Regions from separate parts of the Homo sapiens genome. Here regions 1, 2, 4, 5, 6 and 7 are each linked to region 3. The links are contacts of gene promoters, found by promoter capture Hi-C in blood cells and fetal thymus (Javierre and others, 2016). All regions are on one chromosome and are shown on one strand. The core of a region is centred on a gene start or on the middle of the fragment in contact, and the rest is flanking DNA. Distances in the headings are between cores, read along the strand shown.

The links. The method cuts DNA at HindIII sites, captures the fragments that hold promoters and counts their contacts. A CHiCAGO score of 5 or more calls a contact.
Region 1: a contact is called between the fragment with the promoter of DEFB136 here and the fragment with the promoter of BLK-AS1 in region 3, in 16 of 17 cell types (non-activated CD4 T cells, activated CD4 T cells, naive CD4 T cells and 13 more). The highest score is 16.2, in non-activated CD4 T cells.
Region 2: a fragment that was not itself captured here is called in contact with the fragment with the promoter of BLK-AS1 in region 3 in 2 of 17 cell types (naive B cells and total B cells); the score reaches 7.7 in naive B cells.
Region 4: a fragment that was not itself captured here is called in contact with the fragment with the promoter of BLK-AS1 in region 3 in 2 of 17 cell types (naive B cells and megakaryocytes); the score reaches 6.4 in naive B cells.
Region 5: a contact is called between a fragment that was not itself captured here and the fragment with the promoter of BLK-AS1 in region 3, in 1 of 17 cell types (total B cells). The highest score is 5.9, in total B cells.
Region 6: a contact is called between a fragment that was not itself captured here and the fragment with the promoter of BLK-AS1 in region 3, in 2 of 17 cell types (naive B cells and total B cells). The highest score is 6.4, in naive B cells.
Region 7: a contact is called between a fragment that was not itself captured here and the fragment with the promoter of BLK-AS1 in region 3, in 10 of 17 cell types (M1 macrophages, activated CD4 T cells, monocytes and 7 more). The highest score is 9.3, in M1 macrophages.

What each region holds. Positions count from the first base shown.
Region 1 is chr8:11,973,346-11,976,111 of GRCh38, forward strand. DEFB136 (defensin beta 136) reads right to left here and starts at 1,254. Exons shown (of 2, transcript NM_001033018.2): 1 at 1,200-1,254; 2 at 592-773. The coding sequence starts at 1,254. The coding sequence ends at 592. The HindIII fragment of the contact is 18,049 bases long and covers 1-2,766 here.
Region 2 is chr8:11,887,618-11,890,348 of GRCh38, forward strand. No RefSeq gene overlaps it. Among named protein-coding and RNA genes, the nearest start is that of CTSB, 21 kb to the left of the region's middle. The HindIII fragment of the contact is 3,746 bases long and covers 1-2,731 here.
Region 3 is chr8:11,556,804-11,559,837 of GRCh38, forward strand. It overlaps BLK-AS1 (BLK antisense RNA 1), which reads right to left and starts at 1,462. Exons shown (of 5, transcript XR_948956.3): 1 at 1,087-1,462. It overlaps BLK (BLK proto-oncogene, Src family tyrosine kinase), which reads left to right. Exons shown (of 13, transcript NM_001715.3): 9 at 1-34; 10 at 1,159-1,235. RefSeq lists an enhancer at 1,632-1,921. The HindIII fragment of the contact is 8,296 bases long and covers 1-3,034 here.
Region 4 is chr8:11,245,624-11,248,496 of GRCh38, forward strand. LINC00529 (long intergenic non-protein coding RNA 529) reads right to left here. Exons shown (of 5, transcript NR_170283.1): 5 at 1,641-2,166. Among named protein-coding and RNA genes, the nearest start is that of LINC00529, 37 kb to the right of the region's middle. The HindIII fragment of the contact is 984 bases long and covers 990-1,973 here.
Region 5 is chr8:11,853,760-11,856,689 of GRCh38, forward strand. The region is part of intron 1 of CTSB (cathepsin B); the gene reads right to left. Among named protein-coding and RNA genes, the nearest start is that of CTSB, 13 kb to the right of the region's middle. The HindIII fragment of the contact is 1,044 bases long and covers 729-1,772 here.
Region 6 is chr8:11,870,404-11,873,390 of GRCh38, forward strand. No RefSeq gene overlaps it. Among named protein-coding and RNA genes, the nearest start is that of CTSB, 3.8 kb to the left of the region's middle. The HindIII fragment of the contact is 1,889 bases long and covers 345-2,233 here.
Region 7 is chr8:11,991,666-11,994,423 of GRCh38, forward strand. It overlaps DEFB134 (defensin beta 134), which reads right to left. Exons shown (of 3, transcript NM_001302695.2): 3 at 1,509-2,457. The coding sequence ends at 2,315. Among named protein-coding and RNA genes, the nearest start is that of DEFB134, 7.7 kb to the right of the region's middle. The HindIII fragment of the contact is 2,666 bases long and covers 143-2,758 here.

The DNA.
Region 1 (2,766 bases), core at 4-2,503, 420 kb after region 3:
TTCTATGGCCAGAATATATCATTGCTTGGGCCTGTGAACTTGTATTAATCAATAGAATTTGAATTTTTATTATTATTTTTTGAGACGGAATCTCACTCTGTTGTCCAGGCTGGAGTGCAGTGTCGTGATCTCTTTTCAATGCAACCTCCGTCTCCCGGGTTCAAGCAATTCTCCTGCCTCAGCCTCCTGAGTAGCTAGGATTACATGCACCCACCACACCCGGAAGATTTTTGTATTTTTAGTAGAGATGAGGTTTCACCATGTTGGCCAGGCTGGTCACAAACTCCTGACCTCAAGTGATCTGCTCACCTTAGCCTCCCAAAGTGTTGGGATTACAGGCGGGCAGGCGTGAGCCACTGCGCCTGGCCTGAATTTGAATTTGAAAGAGGAATGAGTGATTGGAGATGGGAGGGTAGGAAAAATAACAGGGGATGCATTTCATGGCAGTGCTGCCTTTACAAAATGTTTCTGGAATTTTGCCAGTAAATTGTCAGAATGTGGTCCTCATTTCTGCCCATGGCTCACTTACGAGCTCTAAGATCCTGACACACAGATTAGGAGTGTAGTACTTTGAGCCATTCACATATCCTTTTAATGAACCCATGGATCTTTGGCTTGCGGGGGTTGAAAACGTGTCATATTTTTACAGCAAGACAGAATATTGTGGCAGAACGCAATCCACCTGTATCCTGGCGGACACCCGAAGAAACATACGGCTTTCTGGCTAGTGCAGGTGCGAACTTTGACTCCATCATTCCCAAACATACCTTTTCCTGAAGCGGGGAGAGACCACAGAAAAGAAAAATCAATCTTAATGAGGCTGGGAGAAATCCTAGGCTTGCCATCACCTCCTGGTTGATGGCTTGTTAGTTGTGATTTACCTCACCTCTTATCACAACTCAGCAAGGCAGATAAAGCTCAGGGTAGCCAGAGGCATTGGAGGGGAGATAGGAATCTGGGTGGCTGCACGATCTGTGTGCACAATGACATCCACCCCCGTCCCCGGTGCACTGGCAGATCTTCCAGCTGCAGCAACAGCAGAGCAGGGCAGGAGCTGGGGTCCGCTCACCATGCCCCTAACATGGTGGCCCATTTGATATTGGTGTCCTGTTGCTGGGCTTATAGTTAGAGGGTTTTTTAAGCATCTCAATCTTTGGGAACACCCACTTTTATGTTCAGACTCACGCCCACTGTCTTACCTGAAGGCAGTAAGATCACCAGGAAAAAGAGTAATGCAGAAAGACAGAGGTTCATGGCCGAAGAGGGCACAGAGTTGGAACTCCCAGTGGTGTCTGCCTGGGAGGCTCCTTTATAGAGCTGGGCTGGGCTGCGATGGGTGGGGCTGGACCCTGGCCTCACTCTTCCTGGAGGGGCAGACTGAGGAGATCACAGGGTTCTGCAGAATTCGAGGAAGAAAAGGCCCTGGCCTTTCAGTGCTACCTCCTTTTCTACAAACCGCGGGAAAACCAGAGACTCAGCTAAGGCTGTCACGTTTCCTGATAGCAGAATAGGAGAAAAGACCAGGATCCCCATGCCTAGGCCTGAGCGCTTTCCCTCTGCCTTCAAATGTACTTTGATATAAACATGGCAGTGAAAATGTCTGCTCTGTCTCTCCTTTCCTCTGGAGCACCACTGAAAGCTCAGGAGCGCAGAGAAAGGGTGTTATGAAACACAGGCTGAATTTAAGCCTGGAAAGACAGTTCCGACACACGGAGTCTCTCAAATTGTCAACCAGTGGCCTGACCAAGAGAAGGTAGGGGCTCAGAACTAGTGGAGAAGGGACAGCTTCCTTGTCTAGCAGCTGACTTATTTACCTGGCTGAAGGCAGATACTGCAAAAAAAAAAAAAAAAAAAAGTCCTGGAAAAGTTCACTGATGGACTTTGTTCTCCAAATGGCTGGTATGAAACGTTGGCTAGGATGAGGGGACTCTGAAGGTTCTAGGAGAGATTTCTTTTTTGGAGTTGAGGAGTTGAAACTCTCCCTTAGAAGAGTCGGTTCAGTGCTGTGTTCAAGGTTGGATGCACAGTGTCCAGAGTGGAGCCAGACAGGGCTTCTCTGGAGTGACAGAGACTCAGCCCTGGAGAAGGGCCCTTAGGCCTGTCTCTCTTGGGGTGATGAGGGATGTCTGAGGGTGAAGATGACACTAACTTTGATTTTGTTCTGACCCTTAAGGCAGGCTTTTACGCAGGCAGCCAACAACCACAGGGCTGTGTGTGGTGTGTCAGTGGAGCATGGTATTCCTGGGTACACTCTGCTTTGCAGGCCTAGACCCTCAGATGCATTATTTAGCATCTCAGCCTCAAGAACTCCTCAAAAAGTGCATTGGAAGGTTATGCGTGGTTTTTTTTCAGGATGAAATGAGATACAGCTTATAAAATGCTTTGCACGCACACTGCCATACAGTAGGTACTCAATATTATTATTATTATTGTTTTTTGAGACAGTCTTGCTCATCACCCAGGCTGGAGTGCAATGGCCCAAACTCGGCTTACTGCAACCTCCATCTCCTGGGTTCGAACGATTCTCCTGCCTCAGCCTCCGAAGTAGCTGGGACTACAGGTGCCCACCACCACACCTGGCTAATTTTTGTATTTTTAGTAGAGATGGGGTTTTGCCACGTTGGCCAGGCTGGTCTGGAACTCCTGACCTCAGGGGATCCACTTGCCTCAGCCTTCCAAAGTGCTGGGATTACAGGCATGAGCCACCCCACCCAGCCAATACAGTAAGCACACATATTCTTAATTTTCTGGTTCTTGCTTACTAAT
Region 2 (2,731 bases), core at 211-2,710, 330 kb after region 3:
CTCGATCTCCTGATCTCGTGATCCACCAGCCTCAGCCTCCCAAAGTGCTGGGATTACAGGCATGACCCAATGCGCCCAGCTTCTTTTTTTTTTTTTTTTGGCTGAGCCTCTGGGCTCCTCCTAATGACCCCCTGCGTCCTGCTTTCTCCCTCACGCCTGGCATGTCAGTCTCAACGCAGCGCCCGAGGGCTTCTTTAAAACCCAAGTCAAATCATACACTCCTCTGCTCAAAGGCCACCAATCGCGCCCACACCATCAAAGTAAAAGCCCAGGCCCAGGAAGTAGAATGGGGGCTGTCAAGAGCTGGGGAAGGGGGAGCTAGTGTTTAATAGGTGTAGCGTTTCAGCTGGGGGATGAGAAAGTTCTGGAGATGGATGGTGGAGATGGTTGTGCAACAATGGGAATGCTATAAACGTGGGTGGGGAAGACTTCAGAGGAGGAAGTTTTATGGGGGAGAGCAGGAGCTCAGTTTGGGGCATGTCAAGAATGAGATGCCTTATTAAACATTCGAGCCAAGACACTGAACAGAGCTGAGTCTGGAGTTCACAGAGAGCCAAGCTGGGGACATGGATTTGCAATCAATCAGTGCACAGATGGCATCAGTTCCACGGGACTGAGAGTTCACCAGCGTAGCGAGAACAGCCAAAACCAAACCAAACCAAAACGTTCTCCACAGGTCCCAGGAGTGAGCCAGAGACTTTAAGCTGAAAGGTCAGCCATCCAAGGAGGGATCAGGAAGGGGAAGAGGAGGAACAGCAACGAGGGAGGGAGGACCGCCGGAAGGGTGAGCGCTATGCTCGTGGGCTCGGGCGGAGTGGCACCTCGGGAGCTTCCTACTATCAGGGTTTGTGCCTGCACGAATCTGTCTACAGCCACTGCTAAATCTGAGGGCCATTGGGAGGCAGTTCAGGGTTTGGAGTTGTGTGAGGAGACAAGGTTAGGGATGGGAATTGAGGAGCAGTGCAGGAGGGCCGGGCGTGTAGGGAGGTGCCCCATTGAAGGGAGTGGGAGTGTGTGGGTTGGGGAGCAGCTGTTCAGAGGGGTCCACTGTGGCCCCCAGACTCTGGGCTGATCCCCAGAGTAAAGAAGATGGACATATCCTCTAGGGACCTGCACTGTCCCCTCACACCCCCATAAGAATGGTCTGGGGCTGCTGATAGAAGGCTCCTCAGTCAACTGACTTGGGGACTGACAGGGTCTGATGGTGAGAGGCAAGGACAGGAAGGCCTGCAAAAACGAGGCCTGGTCTGTGGTATGGTCTAAATAGTGACTTCCCTCAAAGTCACACAGTGACGTCCTAAGCCCAACTACCTTAGAATGTGACTATATTTGGAGATAAGGTTTTGATTTTTGTTTTGTTTTAGAGACAGGATCTTGCTGTGTTGCCCAGGCTGGAGTGCAGTGGCATGATCATAGCTCACTGTAGCCTCTTCTACCTGGCTGAAGCGATCCTCCTGCCTCAGCCTCCTGAGTAGCTGGGACTACAGGCATGCGCCACCACACCCAGCTGTTTTTTTAAACAGTTTGTAGAGACAGAGCCTCACTATGTTGCCCTGCTGGTCTCAAACTCCTGGGCTCCAGCAATCTTTTCGCTCCCACCTCCCAAAGTGCTGGGATTACATTGTGAGCCACCACACCCAGTCTTTGGAGACACGGTCTTTAAAGAGGTAGTTAAGTTAAACGAGGCTGTTAGGGTGGGCTCTAATTCAATCTGATTGGTGTCCTTATAGGAGGAGGGAGAGACATGAAGGCTGCACATACACAGAAAAAAAAAAAAACCCAACAACATGTGGGGACACGGAGAAGGCATAGCCTGAGGAGAAACCAGCCATGCCAACACCTTGATCTCAGACTTCTAACCTCCAAAACTGTGAGAAAACGAACGCCTATTGTTAAGTTGCCCAGCCTGTGGTATTTTGTTACGGAAGCCTGAGCAAACTAACACAGCCTGGCATTTTTGCTCTGAAGTTTACAGGATTGATTGGAATTTATGGGAATAGATTTATAGTTGCACAACTCAATGCTATGCAGGGATTTTCTCCAGCGTGATTCCTTTGGTGAAACAGTGGCCCCCACTTCCTACTGTCTGCCCAAACCCAAGCCAGCGAAAGTGTCCATTCACCCATCCATTCAGTCATTTACTCATTCATTCAACAAATATTTATTGAAGACTTACTGTAAAGGTCTTATAAAAGGTGATGGAACCTTGTCCATATCAGGGTTAGACATGGCTAAGTTCTGGGGAATTAGAACATATTATTAATCTCCATAACAAATACAGCTTTTGATGACACACAGAAACGAATGAAATCGGACACAAAGTCCCAATCAGTTTTTGGAAATAATCCACAAAATAAATGGAAGTTTCAGTTCCATAAACAACTAAATTGGATCCAGATATCAGATAATTCCACATTATATTGAAAAAGAAGAAATCGGGCCAGGCATCAGCATGTTGGGAGGCTGAGGTGGGCAGATCACTTGAGGTCAGGAGTTCAAGACCAGCCTGGCCAACATGGTGAAACCTTGTCTCTACTAAAAATACAAAAATCAGCCAGGTGTGCTGGCACATGCCTGTAATCCCAGCTACTCAGGAGGCTGAGGCATGAGAATTGCTTGAACCTGGATGGCAGAGGTTGCAGTGGGCCGATTGTGCCACTGCACATGGTTTGGCTGTGTCTCCACCCAAATCTCATCTTGAATTGTAACTGCAAGAATTCCCATGTGTCGT
Region 3 (3,034 bases), core at 212-2,711:
CCCATCTACATTGTCACCGAGTACATGGCCAGAGGTGGTGCCCCCCGCAGAGCCGCATCCTCAGAGCGAGGCGGGAGGGCCGGGCTTAGCAGGAGGAGGAGGGTCCGCTGCGGTGGGTTCACCAGGCCAGGGGGTCCTGCAGATCTAGGGCATGGCACGGTGTGGGGACAGGGAGGGATGGAGGGAGGGGGAGGGACAGAGGGAGGGTGAGAAACAGGAGGGTGAAGTGGTTCTGACAGAGCCATGTTCTCAGCCCAGGAGCAGTTCAGACAGCATTTCTGGAGTGCATCTTCTGTGCCTAGCACTCTTTGATGCCTGCTGGGAGGGACAGAGCATTGCAAAGTCAGACGAACACCAGGCCAGGCATGCAGGGACAGTACTAGATCCAGGTCTCCTGCCTCCTGGTCATGCAACCATTTACAACTGTGTGAATATTTTACAAGGATGGCCAGAGAGGTTGGGCTTGATGGCCTCTGAGGTCCACGGCGTGGCCAAGTTCTCATGCCACTTTCTCACCCTCCTATGACCCTGACCGCACACTGCTCCTATAGGATCCTAACATGCCCATGTTGATATAGCTCCCTAACAACTGTCACCAAGGGGCCCCCGGTCGGAGGCTGTGCTGGGGGTGCCTCTAGCCTGCCCCTAGGGCAAGCATCCATCCCTCCCAGCTTTCTGATTCCAGGGGGAGCTGCATTTGTCCCCTGCACCAAACCTGGGGGACAGTTCTCTCCATTCTGGTGCTTTCTTGCTGATGCCTGGTCCTCAGAGGCAGAGGGTGTCTGCCAGCAGGGATCAAGGGAGCGAGGCCAACACGGGGGGAAAGACAAGAAGGGGCATGAAACTTCGAGTCAGAACTGGGGTCCCACTCCCAGCTCCCGGCTGGGTGACTTCAGACAGGTCCCTGCACCTGGCTGAAACCTAACTTCTGGGCAACTGCTGGTATATTGGCTGCCTCCCGGGGTGCTGAGACTGGCATTTTGTAAAGTGGAAGGCACTCGGCAGCAGTAGGTAGATCCTTCCTGATGCACCGAGAGATCTGAGGGTGCAAACTCCCACTTCCCGCGCCCATGGGGAGCCACTCACACCAGAGAGAGGCTGGCACCACCAGGGGCGGGTCACTTTGCAGAAGGGCACTTGCAACTTCTCTTTTCTTAGGATGCCTGCTGGATTTCCTGAAGACAGATGAAGGGAGCAGATTGTCACTCCCAAGGCTGATTGACATGTCGGCGCAGGTTGGTGAAGTACCAGGTGCAGAGAAAGGGCGGCATGTGCCACCTGCTGCCCACAATGGCTGCTCGTGCCTTACCACCCCATCCTCTCAGCCAGCAGGAGAAGTCAGGGGGTACTGAAGGCCACCTTCCTCTAGGCAGATATCCCCAAGGTCACCCACTGCACTTGGACTTGCAAACCCTGGCCACTGTGCCTCCTGCCCCACGCAGCTGTGAGGGAGCCCAGGGAATGGAGCCTTAGACCCGGGCTGCTGTGTTGGAATGAGGCTATTCTGTTCCGAAGGAAGAGAGGGCGAATGAATGTCATGGGAAACACACAGAGTTAGCAAGAGTTCCATTGAACCCGGCAGGCAAGTGTGTTCTGTTGTGACCTCATCTCTTCCTTAGATGGTGCCCACAAACATCTCCTGTAGGACTTCCCATCCCAGGGGCCCTCAGCCTTTGCACAGCCCTGGCGTCGACCCCAGGCTGATGGGCAGGCCTGAGCTACACACAGATGCCAGGGACATGACTTCTCTGAGCCCTGGAGGACAGCCCCACCTTCTGCCACCAGGGAATTGCGAGTGCTGGACCTCCTTGGCTACCCAGGACTGGTCCTCAGTGTCCCTCACGTTCACATGCAGAACTTTCTGGACTCCATGGGGTGAAGAGCAGAGTGGAGAGGAGGGTTTTAGCCGAGAGCTCTAGCTGGCAGGAAGCACATCTGGTGGCCCTGTTAAAACTGGAACTCTCAGCAGAAAAGTTTTGGTCTGTGGTCAGCCTGTGAGGCACACACGTGCGTACACATACACACACACATACAGCTGCCACCGAGAGGAAACGCTCCCACCCACCGCCCACATCAGCCCTCCCACCTCGCCCCTCGCCCAGCCTTACCCAGTAGCGCCGCTGCAGGAACTGATGCCACAACGCCTTTTTCCGCTGAGGTGGGCAGACAGCCATCTGGGCAGGCTGGTTTTGGAAAATGAGTGCTGGTAACCGGCTTCAAACCCCAGGGCAGTGATAAGCCTGCCCACTGCTGCTGCTTCCTTTCCCCTTCCTTCTCTCACCCTCCGCTGTCTCCTATTCAATCCCCACTACACCCCCTTGGGAAATCTCGTGTGACCCAGGGGCAAAGGATGTGAAAAGCCATCGGAGTTTAATACCTGGATGTAGCCACAGAATCGGGGGTGAGGAGCCAGAAAATCAGAACTTCCCAGAAGGGCAGCCTCTAACCACATGCTGACCATGCCAATGGCTCTCTAAGCACACATGTACACACACACACTCTCACACACATAAAAACACAGACTCACACACACACGGACAAACACAAACACATACACAGACTCACACAGACACGCAAACTCACACACAGACAGACACACACACAGACACACAGACTCACACACACAAACTCACACAGACACACAAATACACAGACTCAGACTCAAACACAAACTCACACAAACACATTTACACAAACTCACAAACTCACACACACAAACACACACACAAACACGCAAACTTACACACACATGAGCAGACACACACCCGGCCCTTCTGGGCTCTTCTTTTCTTACTCCATAGGAAGCCATGCAAAGTCTCGCCAGACCTTTCTTCCAAGGCCAGATCTGGCCAACCCCACAGGAACCCTGCAATCACAATCCCTCGGGCCCCACTTTGCAGCCAGATGCCACCGGTTCCCATGCCCCATGCCTCGCCACCCCTCTACCTCCTCTGCCCAGGAAGCCTTGAACACTTCCCACCTGGCAGAATCCTTATCATCATCCATGGCTCAAGCGTAATGTCATTTCTATGAA
Region 4 (2,873 bases), core at 232-2,731, 310 kb before region 3:
AATCAATCAGAAGTTGAAGTAAAAGTAAGTTATAATACAGTAATATGTATTTCGGTATGTGAATACTTGGGCAGTATATTAACCATGTCTTTTACTTTCTGAATTCTCATGCTTTGACACTTGGGCCTTGTGATATGGTTTGGCTCTGTATCCCCACTAAGTCTCATGTCAAATTGTAATCCCCACATGTTTGGGTAGGAACCTGATGGGAGGTGATTGGATCGTGGGGGTGGGTTTCCCCCTTGCTGTTCTCACCATAGTGAGTTCTCACAAGATCTGATGGTTTAAAAGACTTGTTTGCTTCCCCTTCACCTTCCACCATGATTATAAGTTTCCTGAGGCCTCCTACCCACGCTTCCTGTTAAGTCTGCAGAACTGTGAGTCAATTAAACCTGTTTTCTTCGTAAATTACCAGTCTCAGGTAGTTCTTTATAGCAGTGTGAGAATGGATGAACACACGTTGCTTACCCCAAAGGGGCTGCTGTTACGACATGGGATGTGGCAGTAATAATGACACATCACAGCAAATGTGTCTCTGAACTTGAAATCCCACCACAAGTTGAAGCCTGCCTTCTGTCTCAGCATGTCCGGTAGGATGATGGAAAGTCTTACCAGTCCTGGGTCAATTTCTCCTTGTGTGACCTGTCCTGAGCATTGCAGGATATCCAGTGTCCTCCCGACTAAACATCACTAGTGCCCTCCAATCATCATGGCAACCAAAACTTCCTTCAAAGATTTTCAAGAGATCCATGATGACAAACCACTAAATTGGATAACTCCCAAAGCACTCCCAGAACGAGCTCACTTCGATTCTAAGATCTCTGGGGTGTCACAGGTAAAGGAGATTGCCAATGAGATTTAAAGTCTGGGAGTTACTATCGCAGGCCATTGCCGTGACCTGACCAGAACATAAGACACAAAGGAACATGAATCTAAGAAGGAAATATGGCAAACCAAGCCAAGGCATTTACTTTTGAGGGCAAATCACAAGCTTTAAGGGAAAAATAAAAAAAAAATTACTTTTAGATCTTACAATCAGAATTGTGCAAGTAACTATAATTCTGGAAGTATGGTTCAGGGTGGGCACTCCTCGAGCCCCCAGGCTCTGAGGTGTGGAGCTGGTAGTGTGTCCATGGGGGTCAGGAGCTTGAAATATTGTGCTACATATGCCAAGTATGCTCACTCCATATGTCTCTGGAGAGAGGAAAGACAAGCAGCTCCACCCCTTGCTGTGTGGCTGTGGTCAATTTACTTGACCTCTCTGAGCTTATTCTATAATTAGTAACGCTGACCTCATATTCCTAATGTATAGGTAGTTGTAAGGATTAGATATTGCACACAAAGGACTTAGCTCAGTGCATGGTACTTAATAAAGGATGAATAAGCTATATGATAAACTATTCATTTTTTATACAGTATCGGATCATTCTCTTTTCAAATTTTCCACTAGAGGGTGCCAAACACTAGCCTGAAACTTGGAAAAACTGTTGTCCAGACTCCCCCTGCCCCAAACACCCAATTTGTAAAACATGCTCTCAAGATCCTAAGCACTGGTGTCAGCAAAAAGACTTGGCAGACTCTCCATTTGCTTTCCTCTTCACCCCTGAGAGGTCCTACACCTAAAATAAAGACGCTCAACTTCAAGACTGTTAGTTTTAATTAAACACTTCTTACAGGTGCATAGATAGTGTTAACTGTGATGTTGCCATGGCTTTAAATCAGCTGCATACACAAGACAGAGCTGCAGGGGCCGCCTGCCCCTGAGGCAGGCAATGAGGGATGTTTGTAGAGAATTTAAACACAATAACACAGCTGACTAAAAGTCAGTTCGCTTGTGATATCACCAAGTGCTAGCAACTCTAAATAACATCAGTGATAAAATACTGTTCTGCAAAAAAAAAAAAAAATCTTTTGTTGTTCAAAGTTCCAAATAATCTCTGCAGACATGATGGCATCTTAGCAATATGTATGTAAGCTTCAATTTGATACATTTCTTACTTACCATTAATAATTTTAATATATCTGGAAGTTAATTCAGAGAACTCCATGTGGTACAGAAGCGTCTTCCTAGTGGACTCAGCCACATACATTTTGTTGTTATCTGTTCACACACAGCGCCAGCCCGGAGTTTGCACCTTGAGCGACAACTGTCTCCAACCCCTACATCTAAATAGTAAATTCAAAACAAACCATAATAACTGTGATTGTAATGATGAAAGGAGTAGACCTTGGGTTATCTTACTTTTGTCATTTTATGTGATAAAAAATTTTAAATTTGTATTTAAACTTTAAAACCAAAACAGGCAGAGAATCATGAGGTCAATTTTTTACTGGCAAACTGCAAATTTAGTTCATATGTGATGCGTTCCTAAATTTGAATAATATTCAAATGAAAAAGTACTCTTTCTTTCAATTGTGTTTTGAAACTAGAGATTGTTCAACTGGTCAATTTTTTAAAAATGAAGAAACTACAGACTGACTCAAGAAAATAATGATTGCTAATGATTGCATGATTATCACTATAAAAATAATTTTGATGTATGGGGAGGGTGTTAAAAACTCTCCACTCCAGGTGTCAACTGTTCTAGGTCTACTTTTGTCTTAAATCCCAACTAAGTCGCTTTGCACATCCAAGAAAGGAAGGCCGACTGCCCTGGGAGAGCCCCCAGTGATGCGCTGAGAAGAATCCTAGTTGTGGGCAGATGGGATTGGCTGCTCTCCTGAGCATACACACTGCCCCTGGACTCCTAAGCCCTCCAAGCCCTGTCTCTTCCACTCCTGCACCCCTGGAGACCTTTTATTTAAGGAGGCCCTATTTGGGAAGATCTCAGAGCACTTTACAAATACCAACTTTGGTCTACAAGTGGGAGGAA
Region 5 (2,930 bases), core at 1-2,500, 300 kb after region 3:
TAAACGGCCTTTGCATGGATTTGTAGAACAGCTTGAGACACTTTCCCAAGTGAGTGATATGAAACAGTTAAGAGCCTGTCTGTGTGATTACACCCTAAGTGGAGGACCCAGGGGACAGGGAAATGTAAGAAAAGTTACAATCCAGGAGTCCTAGTTTCGACAGGACACAGACAAACAAGCTCGGTGTGGGCTGGTGGAGGTTGAGGCTGAGAGGTGGGGCTGGGCTGGCCATCCACCCACTCCCGGGGCCTCTCTGGTTTTTCCAGTCAGCCAAGGGCTCTGCTTCCGGCTGCGGAGATGAGGCTTCTGAGAAGGAAAACTCTCACCTCGATGCCCCAGCCGTTTGATCTTGCACTGGCTCATGAGTCACAAGCCAGTGCTTTCCAGCTTGAACTCTGAGTCACCCTCCTAAGTGAGCAGCTCAACAAAAGCAATACATGTCTCCTGGGCGCCTGCATCCAGGGCTGGGGAGAGCCGCGGCGCGGGGAGCTGGGTGAGGCAGGGGTTCCTGTCAGTCACTCCAGGGGCTCCCACGGGTGGGTGAGGTGTTCTACCTCCCACAGGTCACAGGTCGTCATGAAAGTCACAGGACTGCGGTGTCAGTGCTTAACAAACTGCCTGGCACCTAGGGGTTCTATCTGAAGAACAATTTAAACTTCATTGTTGCTTAAGCAACAATTCATCTAGGAGAATAAATATATGAGGACAGCAAGATGGCTCTGGAAAAAAGCTTTTTTTTTTTTTTTGAGACAGGGTCTTGGTCTGTGGGCCATGTCACCCAGTCTGGGGTACAGTGGCACAATCTTGGCTCACTGCAGCCTCCACCTCCCAGGTTCTTAGCCTCCCAAGTAGCTGGGATTACAGGTGTGCGCCACCACACGCACCTAATTTCTGTATTTTTAGTAGAGATGGGGTTTTACCATGTTAGCCAGGCTGGTCTCGAACTCCTGACCTCAGGTGATCCACTGGCCTCAGCCTCCCAAAGTGCTGGGATTACAGGTGTGAGCCACCGCACCCAGCCAGTGGAAAAGAGCTCTGACGGGAGCCCAGCCCTCTGGGGCAGCACATGTGTCGTAAAATGCTGGGTGATGCTCATCAGCACAGCACCCAACGGACCACTCAGAAGCACATCCTCCGTGGAGGAATCAGCGTTACCTAGGTGAGGCCAGAGAGGAAACAGGACAGTGCTTGTACAAGTGGCTGCCTGAAGTCTGAATCTTCACACTGGACTCCTCACACACAAAAAGTACCACATGCAACACAGAATTGTTTTGTTTTTTTGAGACGGAGTCTTACTCTGTCCCCCAGGCTGGAGTGCAATGGCATGATCTCGGCTCACTGCAACCTCTGCCTCCTGGGTTCAAGCTATTCTCCTACCTCAGCTTCCCGAGCAGCGGGATTACAGGCATGTGCCATCATGCCCAGCTAATTTTCATATTTTTAGTAAAGACAGGGTTTCACCATTTTGGCCAGGCTGGTCTCGAACGCCTGACCTCGTGATCCACCTGACTCAGCCTCCCAAAGTGCTGCGATGACAGGCGTGAGGCACCGCACCAGGCCCACAGATCTTAATTTAAAAAGTTTTATGAAAAAAATCAATGCCCTTTGAAAAACAGGCTGGGTGCGGTGGCTGATGCCTATAATCCCAGTACTTTGGGAGGCCAAGGCAAGTGGATCACTTGAGGCCAGGTGTTCAACACCAGCCTGGACAACATTGTGAGACCCCATCAATATAGAAAATAAAGTTTTTTAAAAAGGTAATGCTGGAGGAAAGCTTAGGATTGACAGGAAACACAGCCTTCAAGGGAAAATGCTTGCATTACACTGAAAAGTCTCTTTAAAACAAAAACTGACGAAACAAAGCAGTACTCACATATACTTTAGGCTTCGTTTCCACAAAAGGCTCTTCAAAGTCAGAAAAATGGAACCAGCATAATAGAAAAACTACAAATGGCCAACACAGATAAAAATAAGTTCAACCGGCATGGTGGCTCAAGCTTGTAATCTCAGCACTTTGGGAGGCTGAGGCAGGTGGATCGCCTGAGGTCAGGAGTTTGAGACCAGCCTGGCCAACATGGTGAAACCCCGTCTCCACTAAAAATACAAAAATTACCCAGGTGTGGTGGCAGGTGCCTGTAATCGCAGCTACTTGGGAGGCTGAGACAGGAGAATTGCTTCAACTCACTTGAACCCAGGAGGTGGAGATTGCAGTGAGCCAAGATTTCACCACTGCATTCCTGCCTGGGTGACAGTGAGACTCTGCCTCAAAAATAAAATAAAATAAAGTAAAATAAGTTCAACCTCAGGGAGGTGCAGATAAAATCAAGGAGGTATTCAGCATGTATCAGATTGGCAAGGGCTGGACAGTTTGGCACTTCTTGCAGGGCTTAGGAAGTGGGGAAACGGAAGGCATGATAATGAGTGCCTGGGGTGGGTGGGCACAACCACCGAGACATCAACCAGCAACGCCCACCAGTTTCTAAATCTGCATGTCCTGGAAATGAATCAAGTATCCAATAACAGAGTAACTGTTAAATTACGGTAAGTGGTTAAATAGAATATGAAGCAACCATTAAAAAAGCAATTAGTTGGTGGGGCACGGTGGCGCATGCCTGTAGCCGAGGCGGTTGGATCACCTGAGGTCAGGAGTTAGAGACCAGCCTGACTAAGGTGGTGAAACCCTGTATCTACTAAATACAAAAAATTAGCCAGGCGTGGTGGCGCATGCCTGTAATCCCAGCTACTTGGGAGGCTGAGGCAGTAGAATCACTTGAACCCAGGAGGCAGAGGCTGCACTCCAGCCTGGACGACAGATTGAGACTTCATCTAAAAATAATAATAATAAAATAAAAGTAAAAAACCAACTAGTTGAAGTGAATTCTATTGTATTAACAGAGTAAAAATGCCCCAAGTCCCAATGTTAAGTGGGG
Region 6 (2,987 bases), core at 39-2,538, 310 kb after region 3:
AAAAGAAATAGGCCAGGCGCAGTGGCTCACGCCTGTAATCCCAGCACTTTGGGAGGCCAAGGCAGGCGGATCACGACGTTGGAAGTTCAAGACCAGCCTGGCCAACATGGTGAAACCCCGTCTCTACTAAAAATACAAAAATTAGCTGGGTGTGGCATTGCGGGCCTGTAATCCCAGCTACTCGAGCGCTGAGGCAGGAGGATCCCTTGAACCAGGGAGTCAGAGGTTGTAGTGAGCCGAGATCACGCCATTGCACTCCAACATGGGCAAGACTCCTCAAAAGACAAGAAAAGAAATATATTACTACCAGAGTAGAATTCGTCCCTTCCTGGAACATCCAGGAAAGCTTCATGGAGAAAGGAACATACAGCATATTTACTTGTATATGTTCCTTCCTGCCCTCACTGGATCTTAAGCCCCACCCAGGCAAGCATTTTTACCTGCGGTGTTCCCCTGCTTCATCCCAGCTCATTGCAGGGTGTCTGGCCCATAGCAGAGGATAGAGAAATGTGAGTTGAGTGGATGCATAATGAATGAAGTAGGCCTTGAAGTTGAGGAGAATTTTGGCTTAACCTGCTAGATTTGGGGGTCAGGGTTCAGGGCCTGGGGAACAGCTCTCAGAACTTACAGAGAGGCCTTGACTCACGTGTGTAAAAGCTGTTTGCTTGTTGAACATCCGTAAAAGAGGCCTAAGTTAACACCTGAAAGAGGTGAAAACATACGTCCTCACAAAAATCCGCCGGGCACAGTGGGCTCACGCCTGTAATCCCAGCACTTTGGGAGGCAGAGGTGGGTGGATTACTTAAGCCTAGGAGTTCAAGACCAGCCTGGGGAACATAGTGAGACCCCAACTCTAAAACAAAAGTTAATAACGTATGTATAAACTTACACCAGATGTTTATAGCAGCATTATTTACAGTAACCAAAAGGTGAAAACAACTCAAATGTCCATCCATTAAAAACCATTGCACGAATAAACAAACTGTCATAAATCCACCAAATGGAGTTTTATTCAGTCGTAAAAAGGAATGAAGTAGTCACACATGCTACAACATCGATAAACCTTGAAAACGTTTACTAAGTAAAATCAGCCAGGTCCAAAGGACTCAGTATTGTATGATTCCGTGAAATCCACATGGGAGGTTAGGTAGGTGACAGCTAAAGGGTGTGGGGTTTCTCTGGGGGCTAATATGAATTTTTTTTTTTTGCCGAGACAGAGTCTCGCTCTGTCGCCCAGGCTGGAGTGCAGTGGTGCGATATCGCCTCACTGCAACCTCCGCCTCCCGAGTTCAAGCAATTCTGCCTCAGCCTCCTGAGTAGCTGGGGTTACAGGCACCCGCCACCACACTCCCCTAATTTTTGTATTTTTAGTAGAGACAGGGTTTCACCATGTTGGCCAGGCTGGTCTCGAACTCCTGACCTCGTGATCCACCTGCCTCGGCCCCCCAAAGTGCTGGGATTACAGGCGTGAGCCACAGGGCCCAGCCTAATTTTGTATTTTTTGTAGAGACGGTGTTTTCCCATGTTGCCCAGGCTGATCTCAAGCTCTTGAGCTCAAATGATCCTGCTGTCTCCGCCTCTCAAAGTGCTAGGATTACAGGTGTGAGCCACCTCGCCCAGCCTGATTTAACTTTTTAATTTTTAAAAATTATCCTTGAATACGCTACAGTGCCCAACTATTCAGTGTTGAAATGAACTGGATTTCTTATTTGGCTGTGATTGTTTCCAGTATTTTCAGAAATATGTCTCCATTCCTATCTAAACTCTAAGTTGGTTGGTGTAGGGTGCTGTCTTATTCATTTCTATTTCTCCTTCCTCTCTTCTCAAAGGACTTTCGTGCCCTTTACCCCTCCTTCCAGCAGGGAGGTATGAGCCGTGCCTCTGGGCTCCTTCTTCTTCCTCCCGACAGCTCCCTTTCTGTGGTGTGACTGTCATCAGAGGGAGGGAAATTACAGTGCCTTGGCTTCAGAGAACTAAGTTTCTGGTTCTAGCCTTATGAGGGCTGACCACATTGTTTTTTTTTTTTTTCTATTGGCTTCCAGAAGGATTCCTCTTTATTCTCCTACAGTGTCTCCTTTGTGGCTTATCCTACTGCGAGAGCACTTGTTTAACTGCGAGCAAAAGAGATGGCTGCTCCTCTAATACCGGTGGGGGCCTCGACTTTCACATGAACTCCCTCGGAAGGGAAGCCATGTCTGCAGCCAGGGTCTCAGCAGATGTCCACAGCCCCCAAAGCTTTGCCTCCAGAGGCCACCACTTCCCACCATTTCTGTTTCTGGTGGGGCCCCTTCAATTCTAACTATGGCCTCCCCACCACAGAAGAGCAGGGTTTACTCACTTGTCCTCTTCCATGAAGAGCAAATGTATTATCTCACTTGGGGTTTCAGTTGCCCTTGTAGTTTTATTTATTTTTATTTTTCATTTATTTAATTAAAAAAAAAGTTTGAGACAGGGTCTCGCTCTGTCACCCAGGCTGGAGTGCAGTGGCAGGATCTTGGCTCACGGCAACCTTCACCTCCCGGGCTCAAGCAATCCTCCCACCTCAGCCTCTGGACTACCTGGGATCACAGACGCATACAACCATGCCTGGCTGTTGTTTTTTATTTTATTTTTACAGATACTGGGTCTTGCCATGTTGTCCAGGTTGGACTCAAATTCCTGGGCTCAAGCAGTGTGCCCGCCTTGCCCTCCCAAAATGCTGGGATTACAGGCATGAGCCACCACACCCAGACCTTGAATACAGTCACATTCTGAGGTACTAGGGGTTAGGGTTTCAACATACAAACTTTTGGGGGCCTAATTCAGCCCATAATACTATGCTTGAGAAGAGGGCTGCTTCAGAGGCAGGCTGTTTGGAAACTCTGGAGAAAAACGGGGTGAGAACATTCTGTTTCTTTTTTTTTTTTTTTTTTAAGACAGAGTCTCGCTGTGTTTCCCAGGCTGGAGCTGGAGTGCAGTGGCCTGATCACAGCTCACTGCAGCCTCAA
Region 7 (2,758 bases), core at 226-2,725, 430 kb after region 3:
TTCACTACTGAATGAGTAAGATTTCAGGGAGCGATATTCAGAAAGAATTTTGAAGAGAGTTTGCTCCATATTGTGACAAATCCCTTCCCCATTTTGTTTCCATACAGATAGATTTGGTAAATAATTAAATTATTTTTTAAAAAGCTTTGGATCTTGGAATTGGATTTCTTTTGGAAGTGTCAATGTACAGAGACCAACCAAAGTTAGTGAATATCTGTTCAGGTTCCTTCAGCAAAGCTGGAGGGTGTGCATATAACATACACACTTTCTCTCAAAAGAATAAAGTTTGCAGCTACCTTGGTTGTTACAAAGTTCATTTCCTGACAGGGTATATGGCTTGTCAAGGGTAAGGTGAAGGCAGTGCAGGATTAGCAAATTTCTGTTGGAAGGAGCAGGGAGTTGGGATAAGCAGGTTTAATATTGGCTAGTGCGAATAGTAGAGCAGGGTCTAAGGCATAGAGGTTGCCTGGCCCTGATGTAATAGCCTTATTTTGATATCATGTAGCAGTGGAAAGTTCTGTCCATGCAGGACTTAGCCAGATTCCAGAGAGTACTTTCTAGCATAGAGAACGTAGATTCACTCCCTGGCTTTGGGGATCAGCTTTCTAGTTAGTCTGTAAAGTGTCATCACACCTCATTCTTCAGATTGTCAGCAGGCTGGATTGTTTTCAGGTTTCTCTTTATCTGTATGTGTAGAGAACTTGCACCCAACTAGGAGGAGTGAGATGAAAAGCAAGCCTAAGACTGTCCAGGACGTTATGAGGCCAAAGTTTCAGAAGATTTGGTGCTCTTCCAGTAGGGACCCCTCTGTCTCCCTCAGTGTCTGACAGTTTTCCTAGCCATGTCTGGATGCATTTACTCTGCACACTTAGTAACCATAGTTACAATTCCAGGCCATCTCTGATCCCATTCAATTTTAACCAAACTCCTTACAGTCTACATAGGGAGTCTGGGCCTCAGAGAGGACACATTCTACTGGATTTTTAGTACCTTCCTCTCCAAAGACACCAACACTGAATTTGCTCAAAGGTTGGACATTTGCTGGAAGTACAGAACTCCTTACAACCCCTCATGCTTTTTCACCTGCTGTTCTCTTTTCATCCCTTCCCAGCAGCCATGTGTGGTTGGGCAGGCAGTACTGTCATGTCAGCCCCAGAACTAAGACGCTGTATCCTTTTCCTTGTACCACATCAGCAACCAGCTATTTGCGGCAAGAGCCCCACACTCTCAGTCTCACATCACTAGAGAGCCTGAGCCATATCGAGCACTGAAGATCATGAAAGTTGCTCCATAGCCAGAATCTACTCTCCTTTGCCACCCAGTCTTTATCGTGAGCAGCAGATACAGAACTCACACATTCATGCATCCATAAGGGTGAATGTTGTTGAAAAATCAAGCAAGAATTCACCAGCGTAGCCAGTAGGGTCAGAAGCAACATGACAGAAGTTGCTAAGTTTTCCTGTTACACCTTCATAAAGTTTATTGGTAAAGAAAATCATGAGTCCAAATGCATTTAGGCAGTTTATTAGTTACACATATAGCAAAGCAAGATCAGCATGGTGTTAGCTCTTAAGCCACAGGATAACACCCATCCAGAGGAGTCAGATGACGGGCAGCAGAGGTGGCATCACTCTGCTGCTAAGGAACCAACACTAAACCACAGGACGGCAGTCTTATAGCCTGTAGCTGAACCCTAGGGGCTCAGGTGGGAAGTTCCATTGCTCAACTGAAACTAGGGAGGTGGATGAGAAATTACCTTGTTCCAGCCCATCACAAGATGGCCTCTCCTGTTCCAAAGGAACTTCAGGGTCAGACTCAGTGCAGACTCGGGCCAGCCTGTAGTTAAGCCCTGCCTATGCGGTTTATGTGAGAGATGTACAAGGTTGTCAGAAGGCCATGGCAAATCTGCTTCTCTAAAGTTGGGAATTTCACAGAAATGGGAAATGCGAAGCTGAAGCGAAGGTAGGACACGACTTAGGTGTCAAAAGTTGTTTCCCTTGAAGCCTTTCTAAATAATAAGAATATCCTCTATGATTAGAGGGAGAAACAGGTGCTGATGAGCACACTGGACATCACGTTGAGGTGAGAAAATATCTTCTACATTGTTTTTGTGAAAAACCGAGCTCTTTTAAAGAAGGCTACAGCTCAGCTCTTTAAATTTAAGACCACAAGAGTCTGCTGGCCTATAAAAATGCTAAAAACCAGTAGTCATGGACACATCATGGTGTCACAGTTTGATCTAAATTCCCTGGTTTTGTGAAAGATGGCAGAATCAAGGGCCTACAGGATAGTGGCCATTCATTGGTTTCTTATGTCAGGGTGCAGGATTTCCTTTGACACAGCACTCCAGCTGAAACATACAGTAGGCAACTAACATTTCACTCTCATAGCATTCAAGTCTGCAGATGCCATTTTTATAGCATTTCTTGTGCATTTCTGATGATAATGAATTTATACCTGGAAGGAAAATGAATAGAAAGATAATTCACTACAGGCCTTTTTGGACCATAAAATTGCTAGTCCCTCAATTTTTATCCAACCGGATACCAAGGAGATTTGGTTATGATAATTGATCCTGTAACTGAAAAAATTAATTAGTGGTAGGGGCTGAATTGTGTCACCCCAAAATTCATATGCTGAAACCCTCACCCCTGATGTGACTGTCTTTAGAGATAGGGCCTTCAGGAAGTAATATAAGTTAAATGAGGTCATGATGGTGGAACCCTAATCCAATAAGATTGATAGGCTAATCCAATAG